Linked DNA regions of Homo sapiens: all the other regions are linked to region 5. The links are contacts of gene promoters, found by promoter capture Hi-C in blood cells and fetal thymus (Javierre and others, 2016). All regions are on one chromosome and are shown on one strand. Each heading gives the region's core, a stretch centred on a gene start or on the middle of the fragment in contact. The rest is flanking DNA. Distances are from core to core; before and after follow the strand shown.

Region 1 (2,711 bases), core at 175-2,674, 250 kb before region 5:
TCCTTGTGCTTCCTTGTTTGGCTTTCCATTGCAATCAGGCAAACGGCCTGCATTGGTTTAGGTAACTGACACTCCCAAGACTCAAGGAGCTGCCGTGCAGCACTATTTTGAAAGCCCAGCCCCCATCAGACTGTATCTTGCTCTGGGGCGAACAGCCCCATCATCTCCACGTCCCTGGAACCCTGCGGACATCTCTTCATTTCCACCCAGAGGGCTGCAACTTTGTCCCGTGGGCTGAATCCAGTGGTGCAGTAAGGAACAGCAGTGCACCACACCAGGGAGGCTGCCCCCAGGACAAAGGGAGCCTAAATGCACACTCCTCAGTTTCTGAAAGCCACTTGCCTGGGGCCACTGCCACCAACAGCAACCCTCTCAACCTTCCACCGGAAGCAGGGCCACCAAGCATCTGCATGTGCCTCCAATGGTCCTGGAGCTGGTCTACCCAGACACTGTTCTGTGTCCTGAGGACAGGCTCTCACACCACCCACCATGCAAACATGCTGCCCAGGGCCTGGGGATCATGCTGCCTCAACTGTAGCTGTGGGCATGTGCATGCAACATCAGGAAGTCTGACAGCAGGCCCAGGTCACCTGCCACTGGGACCCAAGCATGCCATCCAGGGGCCTGGTGATTTCCTGGCCCCACTCACCATAGCCTGCACACTTGCACACCATTGGAGGGTCTAAGGGCAGGAAAGCAACATGCCTCCCTGGAGAGAGCTTGATTCTATTCTGGCATATGCTAGAGAAAAGTACTAAACCAAGTCAGATGCTTTGGAATGTGGTCTAAATATTAATGCTACCAAACTGGGGAGGAAGTAACTCAGTTTTGCTGATTTTTCATTTTCTTATGCTTTATTGGTTAACAAAGAAACCATTATTTGCTTTTGAAGGCAGAGTTATTATTTTCTACCATGAAGTTACTTCAACTCATAAAAATGTATTTTATTTACACCTTTGTAGCAATGGAGCTTGGAAGAAAATATAAAGCTTACCTACATGAACATTTCATCTAGTATTCTGTGGTCTCACCTGGTCTTCTATGAAGTTTCAGTTCAAGTGAGGAAACAGCACCATGCTCTATTATGAAAGGAGGCATTTGCCATGTGATTGGATCAGAGGTAGCTCAAGGTAATAAAAGGCCTCAAAGCAATTAGAAAAGACAGAATTATTAATGTGGATTTAATGGCATTAACTGCTTCCCTCCTTTTTTCTCACTGTGTTATTTTGAATAACCACATAGTTTTTTCAAGATTCTAATATATATAATCTAATCCATATGATTTTTGTACGTGTGAGTTACACAAGGCCGGTATATAAAACTTTGACCAATGTGTCTGTAAATCAGAGTTCTGCAAACTATGGCTTATGGGTGCCACCCTGTTATTGAAAATAAAAATTGATTGGAACATAGCCACACCTATTGGTTTATGTATTTTCTATGGCTGCATTTGCACTACATGCAGAGCTGAGTACTTGAGACAGACTGTATGACCTGCGAAGTCATAAATAGTTACTATCTGGTATTTTCAGAAAAGATTGCCAACCATTGCTATAAAGACTAAAACCTTCTTTTCTGACAAAAATAACTGCAAAAAGAAAACTTAATCAGAAATAAGAAGCCTAGTGAAATACATTGTATTTACAGTTCAGAAATAATTTTTAATTGCTATAAGAAACATCAACCACTTTCCTAGGACTTTTGACACATGAGATAAAGTCTATGTATACTAAGTAAACACAAGAACATTATTAAATGGGTCAAAAATGTCAAAAAACATCCGATATTCTCTTCTGGGGAAACTCAGCAAGATTTCAAGTATGAGTGTTAAGAATTAGAAAAGACTAGCATAAGCTTTAGCATTCTAAATAATAAGTAATTGAATTAATTCAATTCTGTTACACAGCATCTTTTAAAGTCAATCTTTGCAAATTATACATTGCCATAAATACAGTGTGTAATTGGCATTATGTGACTTTGTTTAATCCAGTGTCAACTGTCTAATGGTCTAAAGTGTCCCATTAAAGTTATAATCTGGATGAACTGAACAAGAAGAAAAGTTTTCTTCTTTAGCCCATTTGTTTATCACTCAATTCCTGCTCCTGCTCATGGTTTCTTCCACCTACCTCTGGAGAACATAAAGGGATTCTAGATCTCTGTATAAGGTGGTTTGCTTTAGCTTGAAATCATCAGTGAGGACAATACATGGGCAATGTCCACAAATCACATTATTGCTCATAGACTGTGTAGCCCTGATCTAATGGATAACTGTACATTGTCTTCACTAAGAAGCCAGGGTGGTTGTCCTTGATATTGGGACATTGTAGACTTGGCCAGACCAATGCCCAAATATTTCCCAAGACTTTTACCTAAGACTCTGCTCAGTACCCATTTGTCTACTGCTGGTCATCTGGAAGAATAAACTCCTGGGTGGTACCAGCTCATGAACCTTCCTGAGTTGGTACAGAGGTAAATGCATCTTTTTTGCACAATTTACAGTCTTTTTTTTTTTGGAAAAAACATGATTTTGATCATTGTACTGCATGCCTTTATAAATTTTGGTGTTATGATGCAAGATCTAATTATTATCAAATGTAGTGTCGCTTGTTCCAAATTCTAAAATTGTTTCAATTATGCCTTGGGTAGGGGTGACAGGAAGGCTCTGGTCTTTAGTTTATGGTACATGTCCTTGGTTGTATCATTGTCCTCTG
Region 2 (2,800 bases), core at 234-2,733, 200 kb after region 5:
GAAGTAGTTCTTACTTAGACAGTGAGCATTTGCATCTACTGCAGAATCTTGGTGACTCCGAACATTGTATAGTGTCTTGTAAACTTTCACCAGTGTGTTAGTTCCCTCAGGTTGCCTTAACAAAGTACTACAAACTAGGTGGCTTACTAAATAACAGCAGTTTATTCCCTCATTGTTTGGGAGGCTAAAAGTCTGAGATAAGTATCAGCATGGCCAGTTCCTTCTGAGAGCTGTGAATAAGATTGTTCTATACCCCACCCCCACTATCATCTGGTGATTGCCTGGAAATCTCTGCATTCCTTGGCTGGTAGGAGCATCACCTTAGTCTGTGCCTTCATCTTCACACAGGGTCTATGTATATGTCCAGATCTCACCTTTTTATAAGACCACCAGTCATATTGGATTAGGGTTCACGCTAATGACCTCATCTTAACTAATTACATCTGCAGTAACCCTATATCCACATAAGATTACATCCGGAGGAACTGGGAGTTAGGACTTCAACATATGAAACTAAGGGGGGCATGGTCCAACCCATAGCAACCACGTATCTCATTATACCTCCAGACTTCATTTCCACCATGTTTTTCACAATTATTTGCTGCTGTTCCCTGCTGGACAGTTACATTTCCTTGCCCCACTGATGTGAAGCTTAGCTGTGAAATTGCTCTGCCCAATAAAATATGAAAAGAAGTGATGTGTGCACATCCTAACAGAACCTTTTAAGAGCCTCTTCCCTCTGCCATGAAACAGGCAGTGTTCCAGGTGAAGGCTGTTTCATCAGCCTATGTCTCAGAATGACAGTGACACAGACCAGGGCAGCAGCTGAACCTCAGTGGATATGTAGTATGAACAAGAAAACCTTTATGATTTTAGGCCACCAAGACTTTGGGGTCATTTATCACTGAAGCATAAACGAACTTTAGCTGACTGATAGAGCTAACTGACACCATAAGTTCACCCTGTAATGTGAGTGAGGTTTTTTTAAAAAAATTCATTCATCAGATAATTATTTGAAACTATGTGCTAGGCATAACTATATGTTGGACACTGTGATGGTGTCACCTTGGCTATGCCCTGGTACCCAGATATTTGCCAAACATCAGTCTAGGTATTGCTGTGAAGGTGTATTTTAGATGAGATTAACGTTTAAATCAGTAGGCTTTCAGTAAAGCCAATTACCATCCATAATATGGGTGGGCCTCATTCAGTGGAAAACCTTAAGAGGAAAAGACTGAGGTCCTCAAGGAAGAGGGAGTTCTTCTGACTCCAGTTGCAGCATCCGTTCTTCCCTGAGTCTCCAACCTGCTCTGCAGATTTCAGATTTGCCAGCCCTCACAAACACATAAGCCAGTTCCTTAAAATAAATGTATGTATAGCTCACATTTATTTCAATGTTTCATATTAGAAGTGTTTCATTCTTTATTTAGAAGTATAGTAGTGATTTTGTGACCAGAAATATGCTGTAGAAACTGAACTCTTATTTATCTCAATTAGCCTATGGTAAAATTGGTCATGCTGTATATCATTTTGCTTAAAGCTGCAGTTTCCAAGAACCTATATGACACTTTTAAGTGATGACTTGCTGTACTGCATTTAATAGAAGCACATAGGAGAAGCACCTGACCCTGACTCGTAGAACCAAAGAAGGCTTTTGGGAGGGAATGAAGTCGAATTTGAGAACTGCACTTGGCAAGTGGAATAGGAGTTAGCCAAGTGCAAGGAAGGGTGGTGGGGACCAGGAATTGGACTGAGTAGAGAACATGCACTCTCAACAAGGGCATGATCTCCCCCAGGAGAAGAAAATGGGTGCTTGGCAGACAAGATAAATCTTAGCTATCACACTGTTTTGTCACCATCCAAAGCTCAATCCTATGTGACAAAATTGTATTCCTCTTAATATTTAATTGAGGGGAGGGAAGATGACTAGGAAAGAATTTCTAAGAAGGTCTCCTTAGGTGGGCAATAATAAAAAAAAACATTGAGAAACATTGGTATAGAAAGAGCATTTGGGCATAGGAAAGATCACACATGAAACTACTGAAATGAGAGAGAACATAGACTATTTGAAAAATTAGAATGGGTGTGGCATAGAATTGGGAGGGAAGAGGAAGCAGGAAGAACAATGAGAGAAGAGGCCAGTCTAGAAACAAATTTTAAAGAAAATTAAACCTGAAAGTGCATTTCAACCTCAATTATCTAAATAATTTAAAGTTGGATTTTGTGTCTAAATTATCTACAGCACATCAAACTCACTTTTTTATGTATAAATCATCCTTTGTGTTTGTGGTCTCTACTGAATGAATTAAGCTTTAAACATTGTGTTAGAGATAGACAAGAGCATTTGTTAAGATAGATATTTCAACCTATCATGCTAGAACTTGGTAGTTGTACAACTGTTGTCTCTAGAATGGCATCATGTTCAGGTGGGTAATTATAATGCTATTCCAGCAAGCTTTTTAACCTCTGGAGAATTTTCATGTGATTTACTTCACTGGAGTTTCAAAGACAAAATATGACACTAAAAAAGGTATTTTTCTTGGTCCCATTATTTAGAATAGAATGAGAACAATGGTCTATTTAATAACCATTATCGTTATCTTCCCAGATTGAATTAAAATTACATTAATATTCCATTAGAAAATTCTCTGCAAAAATGCTGTCAATCATTTTTTTATTTCTACCAGCTTGTTAACAATGAACTCAAAGCTAATTCAATACTTTTGGGAGATAGTATAAAACTCAATTTTAGAATCTAAAGAACTAAAAAATTGTATGCTATGTGATAATTTTAATTCCT
Region 3 (2,899 bases), core at 172-2,671, 170 kb after region 5:
ATAAAGGAAAACATATCAGACTAACCTAGCAGATTTCTCAGCAGAAACCGTACAAGCCAGAAGGCAATGCGGCCCTATCTTTAGCCTCTTCAAACAAAACAATTATCAGCCAAGAATTCTGTTTCCAGCAAAACTAAGCATCAAACGTAAAGGAAAGAAACAGTCATTTTCAGACAAAATTGCTGAGAGAATTCACCATTACCAAGCCACCACTATAAGAACTGCTAAAAGGAGGTCTAAATCTTGAAACGAAGCCTGGAAACACACCAAAACAGAACCTCTTTAAAGCATAAATCATACAGGACCTACAAAACAAAAATACAAGGTAAAAAGCAAAAGCAAAAAACAAAAACAAAAAAATAACAAAGTACACAGGCAACAAAGAGTACGATGAACGCAAGGATTACCTCACATTTCAATACTAACATTGAATGTAAATCACCTAAATGCTCCACTTAAAAGATACAGAACTGCAGAACAGATAAGAACTCACCAATCAACTATCCACTGTCTTCAGGAGACTCACCGAACACATAAGGACTCACATAAAGTTAAAGTAAATGGGTGGAAAAAGCCATTTCATGCAAATGGACACCAAAAGCGACCAGAGGTAACTATTCTTATATCAGACAAAACAAACTTTAAAGCAACAGTGGTTAAAAGAGACAAAGAGGGACATTATATAATGATAAAAGGCTTGTCCAACAGGAAAATATCACAATCCTAAACATATATGCACCTAACACTGGAGCTCCCAAATTTATAAAATAATTACTAATAGACCTAAGAAATGAGATAGACTGCAATACAATAATGCTGGAGGACTTCAATACTCCACTGACAACACTAGACAGGTCATTAAGACAGAAAATCAACAAATAAACAATGGATTAACTATACTTTGGAACAAATGGACTTAACAGATACATACAGAAAATTTCTTCCAACAACCTCACAATACACATTCTATTCAACCGTGCATGGAACTTTCTCCAAAATGGACCACATGATAGGCCATAAAATGAGCCTCAATAAATTTAAGAAAATTAAAATTATATCAAACACACTATCGGACCACAGTGGAATAAAACTGGAAATCAACTCCAAAGGGAATCTTCAAAACCATGCAAATACATGGAAATTAAATAACCTGCTCCTGAATGAGCATTGGGTCAAAAACAAAATCAAGATGGAAATTAAAAAATTCTTCAAACTGAATGACAATAATGACACAACCTATCAAAACCTCTGGGATACAGCAAAGGCAGTGCTAAGAAGAAAGTTCATAGCCCTAAACACCTACATCAAAAAGTCTGAAAGTGCACAAACAGACAATCTAAGTTCACACCTCAAAGAACTAGAGAAACAAGAACAAACCAAACCCAAACCCAAACCCACCAGAAGAAAGGAAATAACCAAGATCAGAGAAATAAATGAAATTGAAAAAAACTACAAAAGATAAATGAAACAAAAAGCTGGTTCTTTGAAAAGAAAAATAACATTGATAGACCATTAGCAAGATTAACTAAGAAAAGAAGAGAGAAAATCCAAATAACTTCACTAACAAACAAAACAGGAGGTATTAAACCTGACACCACTGAAATACAAAAGATCATTCAAGGCTACTATAAACTCAGCAAAATTAAGTTACTTCCTCCTTAGTTTGGTAGCATCAATGTCCTGACCCAAATCCATATCATCTGACTTCTGATTTAGTGCTTTTCTTTAATATCTCCAGGAATCAAATAAAGCTCACTGTCCAAGGAGGCATGTTGCTTTCACCAGTGCTCCTCAATCCTGATATGCATTAAAATCACCTTATTAAGTATAAAGATTCCCTGGCCCCTACCCTTCCTCTGACTTTCTGACATAGTAGGTCTGAGAGTGTCATTGAGTGCAACAATGACAAGAAAATGGCAATGCAATGCTATGATTTTCTTGCATTGTTCCTGGATCTACAACCAGGAGTACTGGCCATTGGGAGCCTGAATAAGTTGGCTCTGGAATCCTTTTGGAATGACCCTGTAGCCTTCTCACTATCTGTATGACAAGGTGCTTCAGGTTTCCCTTATTCATTTCCTGTTTGCTGAAGCTACCATAGCTTAAGGCCTAAAATTGCTGGCCTGTATGGTATGTGTCTCTGTGCCAAAAATATTTTCAGTTTACAGAAGTATTTCTTCTCTTGTTTAAGTAATAAGTTGCTAGTTTTCCTTCTCTGAGTTTAGTGAAAGGAAATACAAGCTCCTCTGATCCACAGGGAAGGAGCACATCAAACACTGAGATCCTGACAAAAAAAAAGAAAAAAAAAGGCAGAAATCCCTCAGTGAAACCTGTCCAATCAGTCTTACAAATGACCAGGCTCAAGAATCAACAAAGCCAAATAAAGTGTTTCTACCAAAAAAATTTTAAAAAACATCAAGATTTAAGAAATACTTTTAATCTTTGATGCATTAAATAGTAAAACTAAAAATCAACATTTCAACATTCTGACAACTCTATGTGTATAACTTCTGCAACTCAAATGGACTAATTTCTGAAAAAAGCACAAACAAGCAACTAAAACTCACCCAAGTTAAAATAGATAACCTGAACTGTCATATAATTTCTAAAGAAACTGAAATGGAGTAAAAAAGTTAAGAATCTGAAAAACAAATCTCCACATCCAGATAGTTCCTCTTGACTGGCAAACCTTACTAAGCATTTTTTAAATAATTCCAATTCTTAATAATTTCTTTCAGAAAATATAAAAGGGAACATTTCCCAATTCATTCTATGAGCACAGCATCATCCTGATAACAAAATTAAACAAATACAGTACAAAAGTAAACTACAGACCATTATCCCTCATAAACATAGATGCAAAAATCCTCTACAAACTATTAACAAATCAAATCCAGCA
Region 4 (2,700 bases), core at 106-2,605, 230 kb before region 5:
CCATAAAACAAAGGAAAATTTATTTTTCTTCTTCCTATGTTGAGGGAGTGCTGGGAGAGTCTCCAGAGCACCTTAGATAGTATTATCAAGACTTTTCCTGGGTCTGGTCTGTGCCTGTTGCTGCCTCTGGGACAAGTCAGCCTAATACAGGAAAACTTATTTCTTTTTATTTTTAATTGTATTTTTCTTTAATTTCCTGCCTCATCAACACTCAACTATGCTCACAACTCAAATATTTCATTTAATTTATAGTGGAAAACTTTCTTTTTGGATTCTTTTTAAATATTTTCACTAGTCAATTAATGGAAGATAGAACAGGATTTAGAGGATTTATTTTGCATCCTGGCTGTGTATAAGGAATTCAATATTGATTTACTTATTAATTCTTACAGTGAATAATACAGTGAATCAGTATTCATAGTTTGATGTTTACCCTTAGAACAATTTCCAAAGATTTTTAAATGTGTTCCTTCCTCCATCTTCAAGTGGTTATGCTTATTTCACCGCAATGAGGATCAATAAAGCTTTTCACGGTGCCATTCTGGAAGTGGAAACAACGTAACATACTTTTGCAAATTTTAGAAAACTATACAAACATGTGAAACACATGGCTGAGGAACCTTCCAAGGACTCTGAAGGGTCATGTCCAAGAGAAGGGCCCTGAAACTTAAGCTGCGTTAGAGTCACAATAAGGTAGCCTCTAACTCAGTGAGGGTATGAATGCAAAATTGCAAATGCTGAATGTTTCCCCCAGATAATGAAATAAGGATTAAAAGATCAAGAGGCAGATAAAGAGAGCTACCTAGGAAGTTGTTCAAATGAAATATATTTCCAGCGATACAGCTTTAGGATTTCTGTTTTGTTCTGTTTTCCATTTGGTAGGGTAGGAGAAAGAGAAATAGAGGAGGAATAGTAGGAGTGGAGAGGAGGAGGAGAAGGGGCTGGGAAGGTGTGTGTGTGTTTGTGTGTGTGTGTGTGTGTGTGTGAGAGAGAGAGAGAGAGAGAGAGAGAGAGAGAGAGAGAGAGAGCGAGAAAGAGCTATCAGACCAGAAGGTGATGAATGAGGCTAGTGTCTTGACAAGGAATTCAGGCGAGGACTTTCCAGAAGGCAGGATTAAAGTAGTCTGATTGCATAGAGAGGTTAAAATAAGCAAAGATATTTTCTCTAGAGATGCATTACAGGAGAATTAAAGAGGAAACACTTTAGGCCCCAGTCTCTACTAAAAGAAGACAAAATTGGAAGCACTTTAGTGAAGCAGTGGGGTTGAATTTCACTTCTAAGGGACAGGGATCAGTGGGCACTAGGAAATTAGTGAGTCTGGACTATTTCTAAAGAAAGTAATCCATTCTGAAACGAAGTTCACAAGTGTAATAAAAAGTATACTGTTTTCATGAATCTTCATCTTTCAGGCTGAGTTTCAGTTTTTTCTTTGTCTTTAACCATGTCAGTGGGCTGATTACTCTGCTTCTCATTTGCTGTTCTTTCCTTATGAAAAGAACCCATTTGTAGCTCTTTCCATTTCTTAGCTGCATAGGAGCAGGATTCAGCAAGCTCCATCACTGATAATGGAAATGTAATCATGTCTCCAGTCAACACAGAGAATGACAACAAAGAGAAAGACTATCCTAGTGCATTTCAAACTCTCAGTTTAGCCCCTGTCTACTGGTGCCTAATTCAACACAAACACTGTAGTGTCACTTAAGGCCATGCTGTCCCTGATAACACCAGGATTTCATCTGACCTGCGTCCCACTTCAGGCTCATCTGCAGCCTAATTTGGTTCTGACGATGTTTAAGAAAATGAACTGACCTTTATAAATTCCTTCCCATCCCTGCCACAACCTTATGGGTTCCATATCCCTGAGCTGAGATCCTTTGGAGCTAAAGAGAAAGCTGCTTAATGAGAAGTAGTAAAAGTTCTTACCTGTTCTTTTTCTCCTTAGTTCATGAGGAGTGGCTTCTAGCACTTCTGTGTCTCTCACTGGATCCTTGGACTAATATTTTACTGTTCCAACGTTGTAGGGCTGGGATTTCTTCAGTGATGAAATATTTAAAGGTTAAGCATATTTGTAATGGATTTAGAGTAATATGAAACTGAAAGTACTTCATTCAAGTCCACTACCATAAATGAAATTACTGGAGTGTGCCAGTGGGAGGGTTTAATGATTGCTCAACCAGAAGCTTCAAAGTTTTTTGTTGGAAATCTTAGAGACCATTTGTTGTCTAACAAAATGCCCATTAGGTTTTGAATACAATGATACATGTCTCATGGATTGAGTCAGTTTGAGAATCCTAGAATGAGGAGGCATCATGTTAATTTTCAGCTATAATTTCCTAAAATAATAGACACACTCACAATGGAGCTGCCTATTCTTTTAGAGGTGCGGTAAATAAGGAAAGGGCATATTTAACACATTGTCTGACATAAAAAGTCAGACAGCTGGAAAAAAATAAGTAGGGAATTTTTCATTTAGATGGTGGGGATGAGGAAGCATCATTTCCTCACTTTTCAGTTCACTTGGTTTGCAGTCTATGGAATCCTTCTAGTAGATAGTCACAGATAAAATTAATTCACAATTTAGTATTATTACATGATGCAATAATTAATGTGTATATGCCTAGTGATTTCAAAGATTGTCTTGATATTAGCATCCAATGAACAGACTGAATTTCAGGTGTGGAATGTTTTGATAATAAGCT
Region 5 (2,905 bases), core at 117-2,616:
GCAGTGAGCGAAGATTGTACCATTGCACTCCAGCCTGGGCAACAAGAGAGAAACTCTGTCTCAAAAAAAAAAAACACAAGTTGGGAAAGTGGGATCTTTTTTTCTTATAAATTTATGTACCCTTAAATTATACATGATTCACAAAGATTCAATTTTGCCTGGGGCTATTTTTTGTTTGCATGATATAAACAATAGATTTTATTACTTAGAAGCAGGTGATTTCCTAGCAATAGTTCTGTTTTGAAATAACCCTGCCTTACTTTCACTTTAAATCTCATCAATATTCACACACACACAGAGAAGTCTTACTCTCTGCTCTCCATTTCTCTCTCTCTCTTCCCCGCTTCCCACCTTCCTCTCTTTTAGAGACAATGTGCAGTAGAGAATCAATGTGGTTTTAACCAAATGGATTTTCAAGTTTGAATCTCGCTCAATTACTTGCTACCTTGGTGTGTAGCTCAATGGCTTTAGTTAGACATATTAATTACCCGTTTTCTGATTATTTTTCCCCCTTGGACAATGGGGATAATAAACAACCTTTATCTTGAGGTATTTTGATATTTAAAATGGTATGTGTAAAGAATATGGCCTAGAATGGAACTGATAAGGAGAAAACATTGTTATTGTACACTCAGCAAACACAGAGGTATTTTAATGAAGTGACTGACAGCAAGACTTCTTGGGCCCAAATCTTATTTAGTAGCTCTGTAATTGTAATAAATTATTAAATCCCTCTTTTAACATTGTGGTAAAAGTATTTGTGATAAGAATACAATGGGATAATCTATGTAAACAAAACGGGTACTATCTTCATTATTATTTATTAAATGTTAAGTGCCAAGACCTGAGTTAGGTGCTAATAATTCAAACATGTATAAGACGTGGACATTCCTTCAGGGCATTTAGAGTCCTCATTATTAAACACAAATAATGAGTTCCATTTTAAGAGTCTAATATTCAAGCCAATTGAACCTAAATAATATTATATTAAGCTTTCTTATTCCTGTACTTCTCAATGTGGCCCACAAACATGAGATGAATGTCATTATTTTAAACGATTCATTGAAGTTTTTTTAATAATCGCAAGCTGTCTCTAAGATCTCTTCCAATAATAAAATTGGAAGATTCTGTTTGAGAAATTATGTCAAATCCTCTCACTAGCACAGCTGTCAGCAATTTCTTTTATTGTTGCTAAATCATGGACTGTCATATTACTCTATTTATTTGCAGAGGTTGCATTGTTTTTTACATGTATAAATACAGGTCTCTAGAAAGTCTGGAAAGCCCCATGACATTGGAGAGGTAAGGTAAAAGTCCAAAGTTCCAGCAAGAAAAAAAGTGGGAGAAATCAGTGCAGCCAAATTCAGAACTAAAGAGAAGAGAATAAAGACTCATAACTTTCTCATTGAAGCTGCCTTCTTACCAAGTCCAGAGGATCTCTACTCTGGGTAAGACTATGACTTATAAGGATTTCATGATTTATAAGGATCCATTAGTTTTCTCTAAGTTGACCATCCCCAAGATAGGCTGCAGCTGAGCCAGCTACAGGATACAAGTCCAGATGAAATCCTGGCCTCTTAGGTGGCTGTGTGTACCTTAGTGTGCTCTAATTCCTGCTGTGTCAGATTAGGCTTCAGCAGAGGTGGAACAGATATTCAGAGAAGCCAGTGTTCTAAGATTGTTATTTCTTTTCTGACACCATCTTAAATTACTGTTATCTTTAAATATCTGCCTAATAGGCTCTGTCACTTTCTTTATTGGGCCCAACATTTATAGCTCTAGGTAAATGAAGGTAGGCAACTTGGGATCTGCAAAAAGAGGCAACACATTATTATAATCCAGGACCTTATAACATCTTTGTGCCACCACCTTTCTGAGCCGGTGACTGATTGATTCCTATGTTATGGTAGCATAGTATATGCTACAGAATTGGACAGACGCATACTCTGTTTTCACTCATCTTCCATAGATACCCAATCTTTTTAGTTTCTGGTTTGCCCTTCTTGCTTGCCAGCAGATCCTGTAGGCCATTGCTATAAGAGGAAATGGGTCATGATCACAGAAAAATAAACGGCTTTTTTTCCATCTTCTGCTGAAGTGATGGGAAGCCAGATAATTTAATATAAACCTCCAGAGGAACAAGTCAGAAGTAACCAACTCTATAGTGGAAACAAACCACTCTTTATTATAGGATAAAAAAGAAAACTGCAGTATCTATCATCTATATTTGCTTGTATCTTAAAGAGATTATATATTTTGTATCATGATCACATAAGTTACAAGGATTGAGACATTCAACTTAAAAACACAAAATTAAAGCATCACTACAAGAAGGCTTTTCACTCCTTTTAACTTTACAAAATTATCAAAATATTTAATTTATCAAGCCCTGGATAAAGATAGCATGATTACAATTGTGCATATGCTACTCTCTATACAGCAGAGATCAGACAAAAAACAAGCCATGGTTTTTCAAAGAATGTTTCATGCTGTGACTTCATTACATGAAATAATTAAAAACAATATGCAGACTGATATACATGGAGGTAATAAAGAATCAATCTTCAAATGCAGAGAATTCAAAATCTGTTAACATAATCAAGTCAAAAATCAACAGAGTAAGTGTCAGGTGCGAGCTATCAGGCTTGCATGAATAACGTGTGAATGCTGATGCACAGTGAGAGGAGGAAGCCATTGGGTAACCTGAGTCCCACAGTCTGACCAGACCCTGCCCACAGAGGGGCTTGCAAGAAATCAGGACCAAGAATGGGTTAGAATGGTATCTATGTTTCAAAGTATAGAGATATGTATAACACAATGTTTCCCAGGTGAAGATTACTACTACTATATACATGAGCTCAGCGAGCTCAGCTTTGCTCAGTCCAAAGATCTAAATGTGAACGTG
Region 6 (2,811 bases), core at 58-2,557, 210 kb before region 5:
CAGCTGCTGTTCACATCAAATACACTGTGTGGAACATATGTTTAACTTCTTGAGATTACTTTTAAAATCTCCCAAAACAGCAGCTTCGACCCTATTTATATTCCCCAAGGACTTGTAGGGATCATAGTCAACCTTACCTCTCCAGAATCTAAGTATAGAGAATATAGAGAAGAATTCCAAGTCTTACTGAAACAATTAAGAAAAAAAGGATTCAGGGCTTTTAGTGATTGCCAAGCAGCAAATGGTGATGTGCTTCCTTTCATGATGTTGCTGTAACCTTCACCAGCCCTTCCTGAGGTACCTGGGTGAGGACCGTCTGGCCTGCTGAGGCCAAGGGCAGACTTACCTTCTGCGTGTGCTCCAACATCATAATCTGCTCTCTCAGTAGGTGTTCTCTCTCCATCTGCAGCTTCTCCTTCAGTTGGGCTATGTTTTCCTTGCGACTCTTATCTTGAGCCTCCATCTGTTGCTGCTGCTCCTGTAATTTCTGTTTTAAAAGTTCCTGTTCCTTCTCAGCTGCCTCCTTCTTGGCCCGATCCACTGCTCCATGAAGGTATTAGAAAGAGAAGAAAATAATAGGTGAAGATTCATCTCCACTTTTCTGAGCTGAGACTAAACCAAATCTGAAAGGCAGGGTGAGAAATCACAGAATTCACCCAGGTCCACACCATTAAGAGCGCATTTGAGAATGTGATGGGAAAGGCTCTGCCTGTCTGGCTGATGTACAATCATAGCTCCCCTTGTTATTTTAAGATTTAGCAGAGTGTGTGTTCCACAGAAGAGGAAATTCCTCATTTTGGGAAGGTTTTCCTGTTAGATCTGTTAGAGGGCATTGTATAAACGTACCCCTCCTGTGTAAGCTGAGCCCTGCCCCATACCTGCTACTGCCTTCTCTCTATCAGTGAGGGCTTTATCTGACTGCAAGATGGATTCCTCTATCACCATCTGTGACTCCAGGAACCTCTGGAAGACCTCTTTTGCCTATGGAAGGAAGAAAAAGCACTTAGATTTCTTTGAAAATCTATGTTCTGGGTATTAGTGTTGCAAGAACAATTATGGTCTTGTAACTTTTGCTTTATGCCTAAAATTCTAAAGTGGCCCCCTACAAAGTGTGCGGGCTCTTTAGGGTGACCAGAGCCCCTCCTCAATTCCTGCTTCCTGTCTCCCTCCAGTGCCTTTCCCACTGCTGTAATATCTCCCTGTACCCGTTTTGGGTTCCGGCCAGGCAGAACTATGTGCACAGGTGTACAAACTCCCAATCTCTGATGCTTATACATGTCTGTCTTCCAGTGTGCAATGCTGCCTCTAATCTATGCTGTTGCTTTCTCCTGCCACTTGCTGGCTAGAACTTTAGGCAAGTTATGTAATCATCCTTGGGTACTAAGTTCAGATCTGTAAAATTTCCAAATAAAGGTGCTTCTTAAAGTCATTAGGAAGATGAAATTAAAATGTCTGGGGAAGAATTTAACAGTATACTGTAGGTAATAACAGCTCGTGAGTTAGTTGTATTATTACTACTATTATGTTTATTACCACCACCTAGGTGGTAATTTTCATTCTGTCTCTCCTGGATTTCTGAATACTATACTCTTTGTTTTGGAATAAAAATTTTTATTCTAAGAAATAAATATTAATTAGTGGACATTGAAAGCTAAGGCGTTATGCTATCCCTCTGCTCTCTTATTACCCACGGCTGGTGCTGAAGACTCCATTCACTCTATCCTATAAACTTCCCCATGCTCCCCTTATTCCTTACCTTTACTCCTTTCCTGGGAACTTGCCAATAGTCCTGTTCAATCCTTTCCTTTGTTTCCATGTAGAGCTTGTGCCCTCCAGGAACAGAGAAACTTCCTGCTGAGATACTTTCCATTAGTCCCTTTGAGAGCTCATTGAGTTTAGCCTGGCAGTATTGAACAGATGACTCTTCATTCTGCAGCAAGAAATCCCCCTTCTTATTCATTGTGGTTTCCTGCAAGGGAAATGTAGAGAGATGTCACCAGAAGAAACATGGAGGAGATGAAATTCTAAAGAATCTGGTGGTAGAGTCAATCTAACTGTGGTCCTCATGAGAAAAACATTCTAGTGGAGTAGATGTGGAATCAGAAACACAAAACTTCATACATTTACAATGCTAGAAATTCTCTTCAAGGCTATGGAAAAGTTCATTAATCTTCCTGAGCTTCAGGTTCCTTATCTGTGACATGATGAGACTACATTCCATAATCTCTATGGTTTGTTGCAATGGTATCATCCTGTGTTCCTGTCCTCAATGGTACAAGGATACAAGAAGGAGCAATGTAAGTTGAACAATGGCCCGGAATTACGATCTGGTAAGAGAATCTTTGTTTCCTGGGAAAGGTAAACTATGCACAGAAAAAGTGCACTGCTCAGGGATGACTTGTGCGTGTTCAGAGCAGGCCTGGAATCCTTAGAAGTGTTCACTTGAGGATCTTAAGTGATCTGTATTGATTTTACCTCAGTTATCAGAAGATTTTCTAGTTAAGTGCTTATATGTAGTCTTTTGAAACTCTATCCCTCATGAGAATCCACAATAAGTTATTCCTCAGTGACAGATGAGCATTGGTGACAATAAAGGCAACTATAGGCTTCATTCTTCAAGGGGAAGGATGATGAACAGTAATGACTAAGGCAAATTACCATGAACTTCTTCTGGAATTCCTGATTTTCATCCTTGAAGGAGTGCTCCATGAAGATTGCAATGGCTTCCCTCTCACAGGCCGCATGCATGTCCAGCAGCTCCTGGAGCGTGTCTGTGGGGAGCTTCACTCGCTGGGCCATCTGCTGGCTGTA
Region 7 (2,938 bases), core at 269-2,768, 160 kb before region 5:
CATCCAGGTCATGCTGATGCAAGAGGTGGGTCCCCATGGTCTTGGGTAGCCCCACCTCTGTGGTTTTGCGGGGTGCAGCCTCTCTTCTGGCTGCTTTCATTGGCTGGTGTTGAGTGTCTGTGGCTTTTCCAGGTGCACAGTGCAAGCTGTCAGTGGATCTACCATTCTGGGGTCTGGAAGACAGTGGCCCTCTTCTCACAGCTCCACTAGGCAGTTCCCCAGTAGGGACTCTGTGTGGTGGCTCTGAACCCACATTTCCCTTCTGCACTGCCCTAGAAGAGGTTCTCCATGAGGGCCCCACCCCTGCAGCAAACTTTTGCCTGGGCATCCAGGAGTTTCCATACGTCTTCTGAAATCTAGGTGGAGGTTCCCAAACCTCAATTGTTGACTTCTGGGCACCCACAGGCTCAACACCATGTGGAAGCTTCCAAGGCTTGAGCCTTCCACCCTCTGAATCCACAGCTCAAGCTGTATGTTGGCCCCTTTCAGCTACAGCTGGAGTGGCTGGGACACAGGGCACCAAGTCCCTAGGCTACACACAGCACTGGGACCCTGGGCCTGGCCCAAGAAACCACTTTTCCTCCTGGGCCTTCAGGCCTGTGACAGGAGGGGCTGCTCTGAAGGTCTCTGACATGGGCTGGAGACATTTTCCCCATGGTGTTGGGAATTAACATTAGGCTCTTTGCTACTTATGCAAATTTCTGCAGCAGGCTTGAATTTCTCCCCAGAAAATGGGGTTTTCCTTTCTATCACATAGTCAGGCTGCAAGGTTTCCAAACTTTTATGCTCTGTTTCCCTTATAAAACTGAATGCCTTTAACAGTACCCAAGTCACCTCTTGAATACTTTGTTGCTTAGAAATTTCTTCCACCAGATACCCTAAATCATCTCTCTCAAGTTCAAAGTTCCACAAATCTCTAGGGCATTGGGAAAATGCTGTCAGCCTCTTTGCTAAAAATAACAAGAATCACCTTTACTCCAGTTCCCAACAAGTTCCTCATCTCCTCTGAGTTCCTCTGAGACCACCTCAGCCTGGACCTTATTGTCTATATCACTATCAGCATTTTGGGCAAAGCCATTCAACAAGTCTCTAGGAAGTTCCAAACTTTCCCAGATTTTTCTGTCTACTTCTGAGCCCTCCAAACTGTTCCAACCTCTACCTGTTACCCAGTTCCAAAGTCACTTCTACATTTTGGGGTATCTTTTCAGCAACACCCCACTATACTGGTACCACTTTACTATATTAGTCCATTTTCATGCTGTTGATAATGACATACCCGGGACTGGGAAGAAAAAGAGGTTTAATTGGACTTACAGTTCCACATGACTGGGGAGGCCTCAGAGTCATGGCGGGAGGCAAAAGGCACTTCTTACATGGAGGCAGCAAAAGAAAATGAGGAGGAAGCAAAAGCAAAAACCCCTGATAAACCCTTCAGATCTCATGAGACTTATTCATATTATGAGAATAGCACTGGAAAGATAGACCTCCATGATTTACCTCCCCCTTTGTCCCTCCCAGAACACATGGGAGTTCTGGGAGATAGAATTCAAGTTGAGATTTTGGTGGGGACACAGCCAAACCATATCAGGCACCCCTGGTGCAAATCCAACAAAGGGGTCAAGAGAAAACTCCTTCATCACTGCTTTGGTGGTCTTAGGTAAGATCCAGTACAATTTCATGGATTACCCAGCAAAGACTTTTGTTCTCTTCTCTTACTTTCCCAAACAAATGGAATATCTCTTTCCATGCTGAGCTGTCTGGAGTTGTGGGAAGGGTGACACAAACATCCTTATCACCACCACCAGGATTGCACTGGGTCAAACCTGAAGCCAGCATAGTACTGAATCTTGCTCAAGACTTGCAGCAACTACTGTCTGGTTACTGCTGATGTTCACACAAGGCCCAAGGGCTCTTCAGTCTGCTGGTGACAAATCCAGCCAGGCTTTTGTCCTTTTCTTTAGGGCTGTGTGTATTCTCTCTTTCACAGGCACATAGATTCTCTCTCTGTGCCACATGGCCACTGCTGGGAATGGGGAAAGGTTGATGTCAGCAGTTAAAGACTATCATTCCTACCCTCTTCAGTGTCTTTTTCCTTGATATGATTTTAATACCAGGCACTGCGATCATTCACATGATTTTTGGTTCTTTTGAAGGTGCTTTCTTGTGTGGATAGTTGTTTAATTTGGTGTTGCTAGGTAGGGGTAATGGTCTCTGGAGGGTTCAAACTGACCATCTTGCTCTGCTTTCTCTCTGATTTTTGTTGTTTGGTTTCTCTCTAATTTGACCTTGACTATTCTCTGTTGAGAGTAGTCATAAGCCAAGATAGCCACTCTCTAGGAGAGCCCTCAGTGGGTTGAAGGTAGTGGGGAGTTGGGTTTGGGTATATCAGGGAAGTAAGATGTAATGAGGAGGTGGAACCAAAGTGCATAAAACAGGGGAAATGTATTACTTACAGACCACAGAGAGGATAGGCCACTATTAGGAGTCAGATGGGAAGTCTGGAAGTGGCAGAGAACTCAACCAGTGAGCTGGGGGAAAGAAAGCAAGAAACAGAGAAGACCTGTGGGACTATGCCTTTATTAGGGTTCATGGGCATTATCCCTTAAGCTTTCCTGCAGGGATTGTGGATTGACTACTATAGTTCAGGTCTTTATCAGCCTGCAGGATGCATTCCTCCATTGCCAACTGTGACTTCAGGAAATGCTGAAGGAACTTATTTGCCTGAAGAAACAAGATGGAGCAAAGAACTTAGATTTCCACTAGGAAGATTTGTTCTCTACAAACAGGTTCATCCATGTCATTTTTTTTTTCTGCTTATAATGCTTCAGGAATCCCTTATAATTCATGATAGCTCCTTAGTGTGATGAGAGACCAACCCGGTCTTCTGCTTCTTGTCTTCCTCCTGTTCTACTCCCTGTACTACTTCCTTCCACCTGCT

The links. The method cuts DNA at HindIII sites, captures the fragments that hold promoters and counts their contacts. A CHiCAGO score of 5 or more calls a contact.
Region 1: a fragment that was not itself captured here is called in contact with the fragment with the promoter of GBP7 in region 5 in 6 of 17 cell types (activated CD4 T cells, naive CD4 T cells, M1 macrophages and 3 more); the score reaches 11.1 in activated CD4 T cells.
Region 2: a fragment that was not itself captured here is called in contact with the fragment with the promoter of GBP7 in region 5 in 1 of 17 cell types (activated CD4 T cells); the score reaches 6.8 in activated CD4 T cells.
Region 3: a contact is called between a fragment that was not itself captured here and the fragment with the promoter of GBP7 in region 5, in 1 of 17 cell types (activated CD4 T cells). The highest score is 6.4, in activated CD4 T cells.
Region 4: a contact is called between a fragment that was not itself captured here and the fragment with the promoter of GBP7 in region 5, in 5 of 17 cell types (activated CD4 T cells, total CD4 T cells, total CD8 T cells and 2 more). The highest score is 11.9, in activated CD4 T cells.
Region 6: a contact is called between a fragment that was not itself captured here and the fragment with the promoter of GBP7 in region 5, in 8 of 17 cell types (activated CD4 T cells, total CD4 T cells, neutrophils and 5 more). The highest score is 10.3, in activated CD4 T cells.
Region 7: a fragment that was not itself captured here is called in contact with the fragment with the promoter of GBP7 in region 5 in 3 of 17 cell types (total CD8 T cells, total CD4 T cells and activated CD4 T cells); the score reaches 6.5 in total CD8 T cells.

The regions. Positions count from the first base shown.
Region 1 is chr1:89,426,202-89,428,912 of GRCh38, reverse strand. No RefSeq gene overlaps it. Among named protein-coding and RNA genes, the nearest start is that of GBP6, 63 kb to the right of the region's middle. The HindIII fragment of the contact is 865 bases long and covers 992-1,856 here.
Region 2 is chr1:88,970,645-88,973,444 of GRCh38, reverse strand. The region is part of intron 2 of KYAT3 (kynurenine aminotransferase 3); the gene reads left to right. Among named protein-coding and RNA genes, the nearest start is that of KYAT3, 21 kb to the left of the region's middle. The HindIII fragment of the contact is 1,659 bases long and covers 654-2,312 here.
Region 3 is chr1:89,000,880-89,003,778 of GRCh38, reverse strand. No RefSeq gene overlaps it. Among named protein-coding and RNA genes, the nearest start is that of RBMXL1, 9.7 kb to the right of the region's middle. The HindIII fragment of the contact is 3,251 bases long and covers 1-2,899 here.
Region 4 is chr1:89,406,983-89,409,682 of GRCh38, reverse strand. It overlaps the pseudogene GBP1P1. Among named protein-coding and RNA genes, the nearest start is that of GBP6, 44 kb to the right of the region's middle. The HindIII fragment of the contact is 1,657 bases long and covers 527-2,183 here.
Region 5 is chr1:89,174,464-89,177,368 of GRCh38, reverse strand. It overlaps GBP7 (guanylate binding protein 7), which reads left to right and starts at 1,366. Exons shown (of 11, transcript NM_207398.3): 1 at 1,366-1,448. The region is part of intron 3 of LOC105378842 (a long non-coding RNA gene); the gene reads right to left. The HindIII fragment of the contact is 1,918 bases long and covers 995-2,905 here.
Region 6 is chr1:89,381,822-89,384,632 of GRCh38, reverse strand. It overlaps GBP6 (guanylate binding protein family member 6), which reads right to left. Exons shown (of 11, transcript NM_198460.3): 7 at 2,659-2,811; 8 at 1,757-1,969; 9 at 879-981; 10 at 347-540. Among named protein-coding and RNA genes, the nearest start is that of GBP6, 19 kb to the right of the region's middle. The HindIII fragment of the contact is 8,356 bases long and covers 1-2,811 here.
Region 7 is chr1:89,334,598-89,337,535 of GRCh38, reverse strand. No RefSeq gene overlaps it. Among named protein-coding and RNA genes, the nearest start is that of GBP6, 28 kb to the left of the region's middle. RefSeq lists an enhancer at 1-338. The HindIII fragment of the contact is 2,183 bases long and covers 427-2,609 here.